3 separate regions of the Homo sapiens genome follow, and all the other regions are linked to region 3. Evidence: promoter capture Hi-C in 16 types of primary human blood cells and fetal thymus (Javierre and others, 2016). All regions are on one chromosome and are shown on one strand. The core of a region is centred on a gene start or on the middle of the fragment in contact, and the rest is flanking DNA. Distances in the headings are between cores, read along the strand shown. Region 1 holds the start of CES4A (carboxylesterase 4A). Region 2 overlaps CES2 (carboxylesterase 2). Region 3 holds the start of ZDHHC1 (zDHHC palmitoyltransferase 1).

Region 1 (4,713 bases), core at 2,003-4,502, 430 kb before region 3:
TGCCTGACAGCTTGTCCTGTGCATTCTGAACTTTGTCAGATGCTGGGCAGCAAAACAAGCAGCTTCCTCACCTCCCAAAGCCTAATATCCATACTCCTATTGTTGTGGCCACAGCCTATAAGAGAATCTGGCAGAATGAGGCTGTGAGGATAGGCAGGCAGTCAACAGAGAGAGATGTGGTCCAGGCCAGGTGGAGCTGCTGGTAGTCCCTGCTTTCCTGGTCCTGCCCACCCTGTCCTCCCATCCCTATACCTTTAAACCTCACACTGACTGAACCCTCAACTAATGTTCATTTTTTTAAATATGGAAAATACCACTTTGAGAGGCTGAGTCAGGTGGATCACCTGAAGTCAGGAGTTTGAGACTATCCTGGCCAACGTGGTAAACATGCTACTAAAAATTGAAAAATTAGCTGGCTGTGGAGGTGAGCACCTGAATTCCCAGCTACTCAGGAGGCTGAGGCAGGAGAATTTCTTGAACCCAAGAGGTGGAGACTGCAGTGAGCCAAGATCATGTTATTGCACTCCGGCCTAGGCAACATGAGTGAAACTCCATCTCAAAAAATAAATACATAAATAAATATGGAAAATATGTGGCCGGGCGTGGTGGCTCACGCCTGTAATCCCAGCACTTTGTGAGGCTGAGGCAGGTGGATCACTTGAGATCAGGCGTTCAAGACCAGACTGGCCAACACAGTGAAACCCCGTCTTTACTAAAAATACAAAAATTAGCTGGGGGTGGTGGCACAGGCATGTAGTCCCAGCTACTTGGGAGGCTGAAGCAGGAGAATCGCTTGAACCCAGGAGGCAGAGGTTGCAGTGAGCCGAGATCGGGCCACTGCACTCCAGCCTGGGCAACAGAGTGAGACCCTGTCTCAAAAATAAATAAATAGGCCAGGCACAGTGGCTGTTGCCTGTAATCCCAACACTTTGGGAGGCCGAGGCAGGCGGATCACGAGGTCAGAAGATTGAGACCATCCTGGCTAACATGATGAAACCCTGTCTCTACTAAAAATACAAAAAATTATCTGGGCGTGGTGGCATGCGCCCGTAGTCCCAGCTACTCAGGAGGCTGAGGCAAGAGAATTGCTTGAAACTGGGAGGCAGAGCTTGCAGTGAGCTGAGGTGGCGCCACTGTACTCCAGCCTGGGCGACAGAGTGAGACTCTGTCTCAAAAAAATAAATAAATAATAAAAGTGGGTCTTGTTTTTTGTTTTTTGTTTCGGGGTATTTTGGTTAGAGACAGAGTCTTACTCTGTCTTGACCGCCTGGGCTCAATTGATCCTGCTGCCTCAGCCTCCCAAGTAGCTGGGTCTGCAGGCATGTACCAGCACATCTGGCTGACTTTTTAATTTTTTGTAAAGACAGGGTCTCACTATGTTGTCCAGGCTGGCCTTGAACTCCTGGCCTTAAGCGGTCCTCCTGCCTTGGCCTCCTAAAGTGCTGAGATTACAGGCGTGAGCCACCACAAGTTAACACGTTATGCTGGGGAGGAGTTAGGGGAGAGATTTTCTTTGTAGAGACCTGTTACCTCGCTGTGAGTTCTCACCCCACTTCTTTCCCCTCAAGCCTGTGGGCATGAGACCATGGGGAAGATGAGTGGTGCTTTCCACCATAGGAGGCTCAGCCAGCCAGAGCCTGACTCCACCCCGCCATCGTGAGTGGGGCAGAAGGGGCTGCAATGGGATGGGCCACACCTCTGCTGAGGTGGGGCAAGGGATATTGGAGGTTTGCCCATGTAGACCCCACAGGATAAGTGGCAGAGGCAGGGGTGGGGGGTCATCTTGGGCCTTCATTAGAGGAGCACAGAGCCCAGGCAGCAATGATTGGGCAGTGAATGCCACATTCCTTGGGACTGAGGAAGGGTCACAAGGATGGGAACTGTGGGAGAGGAGTCCCAAATAAAGAGCATCTCCGAAGAACTCAGAAAATTGACTGTGAAAGAAGGAGGTTTAACCATCTGTCAGGCCTATAGAGCAAGAGGCTGTGGGCCAAGGGAGAAGTTCTCTGTTCCCCTGCCTTTTCCCCTCCCCAGCACAGAAGCCCAACAGACCCTCTTTTCACAAAGATGGGCCAGGACCCCAGACTTTGGGGGTACACGAGAGAGGAAACATCTTACCTTTTTTTTGTTCTTTGAGATGGAGTCTCACTCTGTCGCCCAGGCTGGAGTACAGTGACGCCATCTTGGCTCACTGCAAGCTCCGCCTCCTGGTTTCAAGCAATTCTCTTGCCTCAGCCTCCTGAGTAGCTGGAACTACGGGCGCGTGCCACCACGCCCGGATAATTTTTTGTATTTTTAGTAGGGACGGGGTGTTAGCCAGGATGGTCTCGATCTTCTGACCTCGTGACCCGCCTGCCTCAGCCTCCCAAAGTGTTGGGATTACAGGCATGAGCCACCGTGCCTGGCCTATTTATTTTTGAGACAGGGTCTCACTCTGTCACCCAGGCTGGAGTGCAGTGGCCCGATCTCGGCTCACTACAACCTCCGCCTCCCAGGTTCAAGCCATCCTCCTGCCTCAGCCTCCTGAGTAGCTGGGACTACAGGCACACACTACCACGCCCAGCTAATTTTTGTATTCTTTGTTTTAGTAGAGACGGGGTTTCACCATGTTGGCCAGGCTGGTCTCGAACTCCTGACCTCAGGTGATCCACCTGCCTCAGCCTTCCAAAGTGCTGGTATTACAGGCATGAGCCACCACACCCAGCCCCATCTTACCTTTGACTGAAGATGGGACTGCTGTCTCCTTGCTTCCACCTCCCACACTTGCTCCTGTGGCTCCAAACTTCAAACAGGATCTTTCTTTGCCTGGCCCACTCCTCCTCATCCTTTACTTAGAAGATTAGATCTTTTCCAGGGAATCTTCATTCCCACCACCCGGCTCTGGGCTCACTCCTCGGGTGCCCCTCTGGGCTCCCACATTACGGTTGCTTTCAGGTCCAGCTTCCGCATGTGGACTATGAAACTGTGAGGACAGCCAAGGGTCAGCATGTGCGAGGAAAGGCAGGGAAGAGGCTAGACGAGGCACTGGGGAGCAGGGAGGCCCAAGACCCTTAAATCCACAGACAGGAAGCCCTGGCTGAAGGGCCAAGTAACCAGGTGTTCTACTTCAATCTTGGCACCCACTGTATGCTTAGACCTTGACTCACACATGTTCAGCTTTAAGCCACTGCACAGATGAGCAAACGGGGCGGAGATTGCAGGCTGATCAGTTTGAAGAGCCAAGATCATCTAGCGTGACCTGTTGCCCAAGGCAGAGACAAGGCTGTGGGCTGGTCAGAAGCTGGTTACAATTCCTCCCGCCCCAGTACTTGCTGGCAGGGATTAAGAGCAGATAAAAGTGTGCTCACACACTGTAGACACGGCTACCATGCCATCCACAGTGTTGCCATCCACAGTGTTGCCATCACTCCTGCCCACAGCAGGAGCTGGCTGGAGCATGAGGTGGATTCTGTGCTGGAGCCTCACCCTCTGCCTGATGGCGCAGACGGCCTTGGGTAAGACCCCCACCCCTTCCCGAGAGTGTCAGGCAAGACGGGCACAAGGGATGGAGGGACAGGCCCCAGTTCAACCTCTCCTGGGGACAGCAGGGCAGGAGCACTTAGACAAGGCCTGGGCAAATGGAGGGTAGGGTTTCAGGACACTAAACCATCTACCAGCTGGGAGTCTGGACAAGTCCTTTAGCCTCCCTGAACCTCAGGGCTTCTCTGTATTTCCTGCCTCCCGGCACAGGTGAAGGGGTCTGAGAACATGGCCACATCTTTTCTTCCTTCCCACCTTTTTCCTTCCTTCCATCCTTCTTTCCTTCTCCTAAGCAGGAGGCCTGTCTCTGCCCCCTCTCTGCTACATGAACCTCTTTACCACCTTCAAATTTCTCCCCAATATCTTTCTTTTTAAAATGAGTACTACACTTTTTACTGTGAAAACAATCTAATACATTAACAAAAGTTTACTGAGGTATAAGATGTATACAGCAAGGTGCACACATCTTCACTGTATAATTATATCTATTATACTAATTATTATATATATATATATGGTAACCATTATCCAGATCAACATCTAGAACATTTCCAGTGGGTTAGGCATGGTAGCTCATGCCTGTAATTCCAGCACTTTGAGAGGCTGAGGTGGGAGGATTACTTGAGCCCAGGAGTTTGAGACCAGCCTGGGCAAATAGTGAGACCTAGCCTGGGTAAATAGACTCTGTCTCTATTTTTAAAAAACATTTTTTAAAAAGTTTTTTTAACTTACAAGGATACACCTGTAATCCCAGCACTTTGGGAGGCCGAAGCGGGCAGATCACCTGAGGTCAGGAGTTTGAGACCAGCCTAACCAATATTATTACCCCGTCTCTACTAAAAATACAAAACTAGCCAGGCATGGTGGCACATGCCTGTAATCCCAGCTACTCAGGAGGCTGAGGCAGGAGAATCGCTTGAAGCCAGGAGGCAGAGGTTGTAGTGAGCCGAGATCGTGCCATTGCACTCCAGCCTGGGCAACAAGAGCGAAACTCTATCTCAAAAAAAAAAACAAAAAACCATCTCCAGCGTCCCATGTACTCCTTCTCAGTCAATACTCAAAGTTACCACTAGTCTGACCTCTATCATAAATAAATTTTGCCCATATATACATATATCCATTATTTTAAATTTGAAGGAAACTTTGCTTACTCCGCTTTTAACATTTTGGCGCATTTTCTTTTCATCTTTTCTT
Region 2 (5,026 bases), core at 1,397-3,896, 480 kb before region 3:
GGAGTGTACAAAAAATTGAAAGAAATTAGTGGGCTGTGGTGGTCTGTGACCTGTAGTCCCAGCTACTTGGGAGGCTGAGGTGGGAGATCACTTTAGTAGGGGAGGTTGAGGCTGCAGTGAGCCTTCATCCCACTACTGCACTCCAGCCTGGGTGAAAAAGCAAAAATCTGTCTCCAGAAACAAGAACCAAAGAGCTCGTGGTGTCCCTCATGCCATTTACCTCATCCTGGGCAAGGGCACAACTTGGCTTCCAGGGCAAAGGTGAAGGCTCTGTGTGCCTGCCAGGCTTCTCCAGGCCCTTATCAGAAGCTGGGGGAGTGTTTCGGCCTTTGGTCCTCTCACCCGAAACTCTCCTAAGTGTATGATCTGTCTCTTCCAACCCTTCCCCAATTTAATTTGCGCAGGTGGAGTCCATACTCCCCCCGCCCCATGGTGCACTGCTGCAGGGCTTCCTCCCGTGCCTGCCCTTGACCACATTCTAGAGTTCACCAGGAGCCCAGCAGGAAGATCTGCCTGGCCTCACAGATGGCTACCTTTTAAAATATTTTGGGCCAGGCACAGTGGCTCACACCTGTTATCCCAGCACTTTGAGAGGCAGAGATGGGAGGATCACTTGAGGCTAGGAGTTAGAGACCAGCTTGGGCAACAAGACTTGTCTCTACCAAAAAAAAAAAAAAAAAAAGTCAAGCATGGTGGCAGACAGCTGTACTCCAAGCTACTCAGGAGGCTGTGGCGGGAGGATCTCAAGCCCAGGAGGTGGAGGCTGCAGTGAGCTGTTATCATATTACTGCATTCCAGCCTGGGCAACAGATGGCGACCTTGTCTGACAAATATATATGTATACAAAATTTTGGGTTGGACCCACATTCAGAAAAAATAATTGACAAGCCATAGGAGGGTACAGGTGATGTGTGCCATCCTCTTTTTACCCAACCAGTCCTGGCTTCTCCTCAGGGGCCATCAAAGTCCCCATGGCCCACACTGGAAACTGCTTGTTGACACCGCAGTACACACAGTGCCCAGCAGTTTACACAAGAATAGATGTGTGCACTTGTCCTTGATTTTCATCTAAACAGTCATAAACTCACCCACTTTCTGGAGCCAGGCTTTTCTACAGCTGGGACTACAGGCATGCACCACCACACCCCGCCAATTTATTTCCTGATTTTTTTGCAGAGACAGAGTCCCACTATGGTCCCCAGGCCAGTCACTGTGCTTTTTATATCCCAGCCACAGCCATACTTTTCTCTTGCACCTCTTTTCACCAACATCACTCATGGTTTGGATGATGCTTTCTTTACATGATTTCTTGCCACTTTGGACATGACATCCCTGAGGACAAGAAACTTGCCTGCCCAATTCCCACCATCATCCTACTGTCACATGACCTGGCACACAGTTGAAGGACACTCTAGTCCCATCAAGGGCATGTGACCCTTTGTTTGAAGGTCCTAGGGCTGAATGATGATGCCTGGCCCCAAGGAGCCTCAGCCTGGTGGGATGGAGACAGGCCCAGGAAGCCAGAGCGGGAAGGGAGTGTTACAGGCAGGAAGTTTGTAAAGCCCATGTTTACAGATCAGAGTCCCTTGAGCTAAGATGAGGATGGCAAGGAAGCAGCAATACCAACAGTTGGGAGGGCAGTCGATTGGTCAAACCCAACCGTGATGTCTGTCTCTCTGCCCACAGGCCAGGACTCAGCCAGTCCCATCCGGACCACACACACGGGGCAGGTGCTGGGGAGTCTTGTCCATGTGAAGGGCGCCAATGCCGGGGTCCAAACCTTCCTGGGAATTCCATTTGCCAAGCCACCTCTAGGTCCGCTGCGATTTGCACCCCCTGAGCCCCCTGAATCTTGGAGTGGTGTGAGGGATGGAACCACCCATCCGGCCATGTAAGCTCTCCAAGGGGTCCAGGGAACTCCAGGCCCTGGGGCAGGGGTGGGGGTGCTCTGAGCTCAGCTAGGCTGCAGTTATCATTTCATCTAAACCCCCACAGCCAGTTTTCCTTCTGAGTTTCGTGGATTCCCACGTGCATTTTTCCAATGAGCATGCTGAGGCTCAGGAGGGCAGAATAACTTCTCAGACTCCTGGATCAGGGCTTGGCATTCAGAAGACATTGGCTCCAGGTGCCGAAGGGAGGGGCAGACACACGTATCTCCCCAGATTCTGGTTATGCCAAGCTTTCTCTGCCACCAGTGGCAGGTGTCTCTGGGAAAGGTTCGGGTTGGCTCTATGAACCTTGTAGGAGCCCCTAACTCTAGTGGCAGATGTTGCAAATACCTGAAGAGAACAGTAGTGGTAGCTTTCTGGGGACCTGCACTCTCCACAGGCACTGTGTCCACTGACAGGACCAGGAGCCATTGGCCAAGAGACATGTATATGTATATGTATATGTTTCCAACTGGAGGCCATGTAGGAATGATGAGTTTTTGAGAGTTTAGACTTGGGATGAGAGACATCCCACTGCCCTTCTCATGAGAAATTAACATCCATTCACTCATGTAGCACACATATGTGGGCTACTCCCCTGTCCCAGGCCTTACGGGTTACAGGAATATAGTGGTGAATGTCAACACATGCAGCCAATGGTTCTCATAGAAACCCCTAAGAGTCAAGGTTTCCGGCAGTGCGAGGAATGATACCCAAGGTCCTCAGTAACCTCGAGGCCTCCCTGGAAGTCCAAGCTGCATCCCAGCTTCCCCAGAGCCTGTGGCCTGTAACTTGGTGGGAAGGGATTTTTGAGAGGGATCATGTGTGAGCAGGATATTGTGGGAAGGGTCTGAGGGTGGCTGGGAGCACCTCTGAACCCAGGGTCTGGTTTTGGCCACAGCCTGGCCCCTGGACTGATTATTTGCCCTGGTTACCAGGTGTCTACAGGACCTCACCGCAGTGGAGTCAGAGTTTCTTAGCCAGTTCAACATGACCTTCCCTTCCGACTCCATGTCTGAGGACTGCCTGTACCTCAGCATCTACACGCCGGCCCATAGCCATGAAGGCTCTAACCTGCCGGTGGGTGTCAGGCCACAGTTCACTGGGGGTTGGAGGACAGTTCTTCTGCAAGAAGCTGAAAAGGACAATATTAGCTCAGGCCCTGCTTCAGAGTGGACCATGCTGAGAAGCTTCTCACTGTCAGGTCCAAGAAATGCTCCTTACCCAGACTGGGCAGCTGGCCCCTGGACATGGGGTCACAGAGTTCTGGCTGCTCCCAGAGGTCAAAGGCTGTGGCTCTGGGCTGGACCCAGGACTCACTCAGCCAACTCATGCCAGGAGATCCACTTAAGTGCCAAAGGGCTGCACCTTGAGGTGACCAAGAACCCCAGCCATGGATAATCTGTTGGGCCTATAGAATGGGCACACACAAAAACTTTTTTTCTTAGAGATGGCATCATGCTCTGTTGCCCAGGCTAAAATGCAGTGGCATGAACATACCTCTCTGTAACCTCGAAATCCGGGATGATCCTCTCAGATTAGCCTCCCGAGTAGCTGGGACTACTGGCCTATTCCACCATGCCTGGCTCATTTTTAAAACATTTTCTGTTGAAACGGGGTCTCACTATGTGGTTCAGGCTAAGGACATTTTTGGTTAATGTTCATGTGGAGCCATCAGGGAGACACCCCTTTTCTTTCCACTTTGGTGAATTATCTGGGGTTAATGAACCCAGGCTTTGATACAGGGGGTTCGATTGCAAAGATTGGGAGGCCTGGTCTTCCTGATAGATCTTGGGTGCCTAACCATTTGCCCATGTAATGAATTTGTGCTGGAGATCTAATGGGGAGGTAGACAGAGGCAAAGCACTGGTTGGTCTAGGTAGTGGCCCTGGTGGGGTTTGGGCTGGGTGGGAGCATCATGGTAGCTGCCTTGATTTCCCCAGGTGATGGTGTGGATCCACGGTGGTGCGCTTGTTTTTGGCATGGCTTCCTTGTATGATGGTTCCATGCTGGCTGCCTTGGAGAACGTGGTGGTGGTCATCATCCAGTACCGCCTGGGTGTCCTGGGCTTCTTCAGGTGAGACTAGGGCTGGGCTGGGCAACCCGGGCTGAGCGGGGCCAGGACAGCCCTGTGATCCCTGTCCCTGCTACTTCTCAGCACTGGAGACAAGCACGCAACCGGCAACTGGGGCTACCTGGACCAAGTGGCTGCACTACGCTGGGTCCAGCAGAATATCGCCCACTTTGGAGGCAACCCTGACCGTGTCACCATTTTTGGCGAGTCTGCGGGTGGCACGAGTGTGTCTTCGCTTGTTGTGTCCCCCATATCCCAAGGACTCTTCCACGGAGCCATCATGGAGAGTGGCGTGGCCCTCCTGCCCGGCCTCATTGCCAGCTCAGCTGATGTCATCTCCACGGTGAGTGCCCTCAGCTGAAGAGGCCTAGGCCTGCTCCCTCCCCTCATATCCCTCAGAGCCTCTGTCTGTTAAACGGGGATGACAAGGGCCATCGGGAGCATGCTCCAGGAGCTGCTGCCTACCGTGGAATTGCTGGGGGGCTCCAGGGTCAGAATTCACATCCTTCTGCCATTGCAGAGGCCGAGCTTGTTCTGTGGCTCCTGTGCAAAGTTGTCACCCTAGGGATCCCCACCATGAGGAGAATCATCTAGGCGGATGGGATGGCCCCTGTGTCTGGGACTTCTGAGTTGGAACAGTGTCAGAACTGCAGGAACTCATACGAAGTACCCTCTGAGATTTGGGGTACCCCTGTTCTTGGCCAGGGCCTTGGGCAAACTCCTCTCCTCTACCTGGAAGGATGAGCCAGCCCCTGCCTGGTCCCTTTACAGGTGGTGGCCAACCTGTCTGCCTGTGACCAAGTTGACTCTGAGGCCCTGGTGGGCTGCCTGCGGGGCAAGAGTAAAGAGGAGATTCTTGCAATTAACAAGGTTGGTCTAAATGGATGTGGGTGTAGAGGAAGGGGTGCAATAGGCATGGGGCTGGCAGGCCTGCACGGCCGTCATATTCCCTGGGCACATTACCTCATCTGCATGCCTGAGTGTCATAGCCCTGGGTCGGGACTGAAGGTCGGTGCATGCTGAG
Region 3 (4,602 bases), core at 1,295-3,794:
CGTCTCAAAAAAAAAAAAAAAAAAAAAAAGTCTGATGCTATGGCAAGAAAAGCTTGAAACTCCAATTATTCCTGAGTTGACATGGTTTGCAAACATTTTCTGTGCCATTCTCCTCCTGAAGCAACCACTGCAAATTGTTTGGGATACAAATGAAGCCAAGGAAAGGGGACAAGTAGGAGGGAGTAACACAGAATAGAAACAAGGCCAGTGAAGAGAGGCCAAGGTTATTGACTTTAACCAGGAAATCAACTCATGACTGCAGGAGCCAGCCTTGGGGAACACCCACCACACAAGAGTCATTAAAAACAACGTTGTGACAGAACAAAGAAAGAAAAACAAAAACAAAACAAAACAATCTGGCTAATTAAGCACCACTGTTGCTTTTACTGCATCTCATGGTGATTATCTGTTTACAAACCCGTCTCCCACAGTGAACCACCAGTTCCACAAAAGCAGAGACCACCCCTCACCCGTGTCTGAACCCAGCTCTCTTTCAGTAAAGGAAGTCAAGCCACTTTTTTACCATCTCTGCTGTCATTACCCCAATCCAAACCTCCAGCATCGCTCTCCTACAGTGTTTGCATGATAATAACCAACACCAGCATTTAGAATGCACTTATTCTGTGCCAGGCACTGTTTCAGTGGAATTCACTCATTCAATCCTCATAGAGCTCTAAGGAAGGTCCTATCATTTCCAACTGTTCTTGTAGATCCCTGTAGTCACTGATTTCAGATGTGACTGGCCTCTCACTTCCTCATAAAAAACATACAGAACACCCACTCCCATCATGAGGACACTGAGGCTCAGAGACACTAAATGAGTTATTTTAGGAGGCACAGCTAGATTGGCAGAACTAGGATGGCCCTCAACTGACTTCCCGGTATGTCTGTCACAACCATGCTGCTCAGCAGCCAGAGTGAAGTGAGCTTTTCAAACGTGAAACTCATCCAAACTCTTCTTTGGGAGGCCAAGGTGGCTGGATCACCTGAGGTCAGGAGTTCAAGACCAGCCTGGCCAACATGTTGAAACCCCGTTTCTACTAAAAATACAAAAATTAGCTGGGTGTGGTGGCAGGCGCCTGTAATCCCAGACTTGGGGGGCTGAGGCAGGAGAATCGCTTGAACCCGGGAGGTGGAGGTTGCAGTGAGCCGAGATTGTGCCATTGCAGTCCAGCCTGGGTGACAGAGCGAGACTCCATCTGGAAAATAAAAATAAAAATAAACAAAAAATAAAAAACTCTTCTGCCGCTTGCAGTGGCTCACACCTGTAATCCCAGCACTTTGGGAGGCTGAGGCAAGAGGATCCCTTGAGACCAGGAGCTCGAGACCAGCCTGGGCAAAATAGTAAGACCTCATCTCTACCAAAACCTTAAAAAATTAGCTGAGCGTGGTGGCGGGTATCTGTAGTCTCAGCTACTTGGGAGGCTGAGGCGGGAGGATCGCTTGAGCCCGGGAGCCGGAGCCTGCGGTGACCCATGTTCACACCACAGCACTCCAGCCTGGGTGACAAAGGGAGACCTTGTCTCAAAAAAATAAAAAATTGGCTGGGAACGGTGGCTCACACCTGTAATCCCAACGCTTTCGGAGGCCGAGGCGGGTGGATCACCTGAGGTCAGGAGTTCGAGAACAGCCTGGCCAACATGGTGAAACCCCGTCCCTACTAAAAATATAAAACTTAGCCGGGCGTGGCGGCGGGCGCCTGTAATCCCAGCTACTCCAGAGGCTGAGGCAGCAGAATGGCTTGAACCCGGGAGGCGGAGGTTGCAATGACCCGAGTCGTGCCACTGCGCTCCATCCAGCCTGGGTGACAAGAGCGAAACTCCGTCTCAAAGAAAAAACTAAAACTCTTCCCATGGTTTCCTTTTAAAACAGACCCTCCATGACCAACCCCTCCATTTCAATACCAGAGAGCCTAACCCGACCTGAAATCACTTTAGTCATGTATGACATCCGCTTCCCAGCCCCCTTCCTTAATGCTCTGGGTTCTGGAGACAGACCACGTCTGTTGGGAGTCCTCTGTGCCCACGCCTGGCACAGAGCCTGGCAAAGAGTAAGCGCTCAAGGAAGATCTGTGAACTTGATGCATGCTAAAAGGAAGCCCCGCGCTCTGCCGGGGCCCTGGAACTCAGGCCACCGGCTCCAGGCGGAAGCGAGCCCAAAGCCGGCCAGGCGGCAGCATCCGCTACCCCGTGGCTCAAGCCAGGCTCCGAGGTGAGAAACCGGGCGGGGACTCCTCACCTGCGCGCCGCGGAGGCCGTGCCAGATGGGCCCTGCCAAAGTCAGCCAGAGGTTCGGGCCCCACGCCTGGCCTTCCACCCTCCCCGGGGCAGCCGCGCCTCAGACCCTCGCGGTAGGGACGGTCCCCGGGACTGGGCGGCAACGCGCCCGGGAGCGGGGCCCCATCCCGGACGGAGACTGGGCCGGTGAGTCCTCGAGCTCTGGCTCTGGCTCCGGCTCCGGCTCCGGCTCCGGCTCCGGCTCCGGCTCCAGCAGGCTGGAGGGGCGGCCAGGCCAGACCCAGACTGGCTGGGCCTCGTCCGGCGCTGGGCCCGTTCCCCTGACAACGGCGCGGGCTACGGCGCCCCACAGCGGCCAAACCGCGCTGCGTCACTCCGCGCCGGTCCCCCGGCCAGGGCGGGGCTTGCCAGGGACCCTCTTGGTGCCCCAGTCGGCCCATTCCCAGATTCTTCCTAACCTTTCGTCTAGAAAATCCGCTTTTCCCTACTCCCGAGTCACAGCTTGTCTCCCCGAAATCCTAACATCTCAAAAGCGCCCCCTTCCAGTTTCTATCCTGAGACCACCGCTCTCAAGAAGAGACCTCCCCCAACCCCAGTCAACCTGCACACTTCAATGAGCGTATGTGCTGGAACATCCATGATATCCCGACCCTTCCGGGAGCTTACAGGTTAAGAGGCAAACAGATCTAGACAAATAAATTACACCACTAAAAATGCAGGTACCCCAGAATATAAAGCGAGAAGCGTAAGAGCTTAAAATAAGCAGCACAAAATATCTCATTTATTTATTGCCTTTAAATCAAGCAAAAATCAAGCCCCAATCTTCCAGGCTGATGGGAAATTCAGTCTTTTTCTATTTTTTAAACTGGTCTCTGTTACCCAGGCTGGAGTGCAGTGGCACGATCACGGCTCTCTGCAGCCTCGAACTCCTGGGCTCAGGCGATCCTCCCGCCTCAGCCTCCAGAGTAGCTAGGACTACAGGCGAACACCACCACGCCCGACTAATTTTCGCATTTTTTTGTAGAGGCGTGGTTTTGCCATGTTGCCCAGGCTGGTTTCGAACTCCTGAACTCAAGCGACCCGCCCACCTCAGCCTCCAAAAGTGCTAGGATTACAGGCGTGAGCCCCTGCCCGGCCGGGAAATTCAGTCTCAGTCTCCACTGTACTCCTTTTAGCTAGGTAATTCCAAAGGACTCATGTTTTCCTATAGCAAAAAACAACAATCAAAAACAAATAAGCAAAAAACTCTCTGGTCAGGGTTTTGTCTGGTACTGAGGCCACAACCATTGCTCCAGTCCACAAAGATTTTCAGGTTTGGGCTCTATGAGGCCATCCCTGCCTGAGGCCCCTGCCTCTCCCTGGGGCTGCCAGGGACAGACACCTGCTTCCTCTGCTCCATGGCCTGCAGCCTCCCTTCCCTTTCTCTACCTGGGAGACTTCCCTGCTAACTTGGTTTCCCTAAAAGTCCCCTCTCCTCTTCTCCTTGTGGACACTCAGAATGGAATCTTCTATGAGCTCAGGCTTTCTCAAAAGACAGGAAGACACTTTGTCTTCTGCTATCTGTCCTGTGCGCATCTCCAAGGCAGATATGACAGATAGGGAAAGAAAACATCCTTATCTCTAAAATGTATAAGTCACAAGCATACTTATTGTATGTTTTATTAGGCAACATAACTACTCCTTCTCTGTCACATGACAGGTGTGTGGGTCCTTGTGCAAGTGACATAACCTATTACTTAAATTCTTGTTTTCAAGACTGATAAACTCAAACTCAATGTGAGATAAATATCAATGCTATTCTGGCTTCAGAGTACAAGCTGACTACTTAACTCTTATCTGGAATTGGAAAACTTCGGGTCAAACAGAGATCATGACCCAGAAATCAAGGTGAAGGATGAGGCTGGATGCAGTGGCTCACACCTGTAATCCCAGCACTTTAAGGAGGCTGAGGCAGGAAAATCACTTGAAGCCAGGAGTTTGAGACCAGCCTGGGATACATAGAGAGACTCCCATCTCTACAAAAGATGAAAAAAAATAGCTGGGCCTGGTGGCCTGTGCCTATAGTCCCAGCTACTCACGAGGCTGGGGCAGGAGAAAAGAATCACTTGAGTTCGGGAGTTCAAGATTGCAGTGAATTACGATCATGCCACTGCACTCCAGCCTGGGTGAAAGTAAGATCTTATCTCTCAGCTGGTCTCAGTGGCTCACACCTGTAATCCCAACACTTTGGGAGGCCAAGGCAGGTGGATCATGAGGTCAGGAGATCGAGACCATCCTGGCTAACACGGTGAAACCCCATCTCCACTAAAAGTACAAAGTAAGCCAGGCGTGATGGCATGTGCCTGTAGTCCCAGCTACTCGGGAG

Evidence for each region. The method cuts DNA at HindIII sites, captures the fragments that hold promoters and counts their contacts. A CHiCAGO score of 5 or more calls a contact.
Region 1: the fragment with the promoter of CES4A here is called in contact with the fragment with the promoter of ZDHHC1 in region 3 in 12 of 17 cell types (activated CD4 T cells, erythroblasts, neutrophils and 9 more); the score reaches 13.4 in activated CD4 T cells.
Region 2: a fragment that was not itself captured here is called in contact with the fragment with the promoter of ZDHHC1 in region 3 in 1 of 17 cell types (M0 macrophages); the score reaches 5.5 in M0 macrophages.

What each region holds. Positions count from the first base shown.
Region 1 is chr16:66,985,337-66,990,049 of GRCh38, forward strand. It overlaps CES4A (carboxylesterase 4A), which reads left to right and starts at 3,253. Exons shown (of 14, transcript NM_001364782.1): 1 at 3,253-3,494. The coding sequence starts at 3,437. The HindIII fragment of the contact is 37,432 bases long and covers 1-4,713 here.
Region 2 is chr16:66,936,351-66,941,376 of GRCh38, forward strand. It overlaps CES2 (carboxylesterase 2), which reads left to right. Exons shown (of 12, transcript NM_001365405.1): 2 at 1,687-1,891; 3 at 2,867-3,008; 4 at 3,872-4,005; 5 at 4,087-4,345; 6 at 4,774-4,872. Among named protein-coding and RNA genes, the nearest start is that of CES2, 3.3 kb to the left of the region's middle. RefSeq lists enhancers at 4,208-4,707, 4,767-5,026. The HindIII fragment of the contact is 939 bases long and covers 2,178-3,116 here.
Region 3 is chr16:67,413,933-67,418,534 of GRCh38, forward strand. ZDHHC1 (zDHHC palmitoyltransferase 1) reads right to left here and starts at 2,545. Exons shown (of 12, transcript NM_001323627.2): 1 at 2,239-2,545. It overlaps LOC124903702 (a long non-coding RNA gene), which reads left to right and starts at 1,971. Exons shown (of 2, transcript XR_007065093.1): 1 at 1,971-2,211. RefSeq lists a silencer at 2,212-2,601 and an enhancer at 2,434-3,091. The HindIII fragment of the contact is 9,596 bases long and covers 51-4,602 here.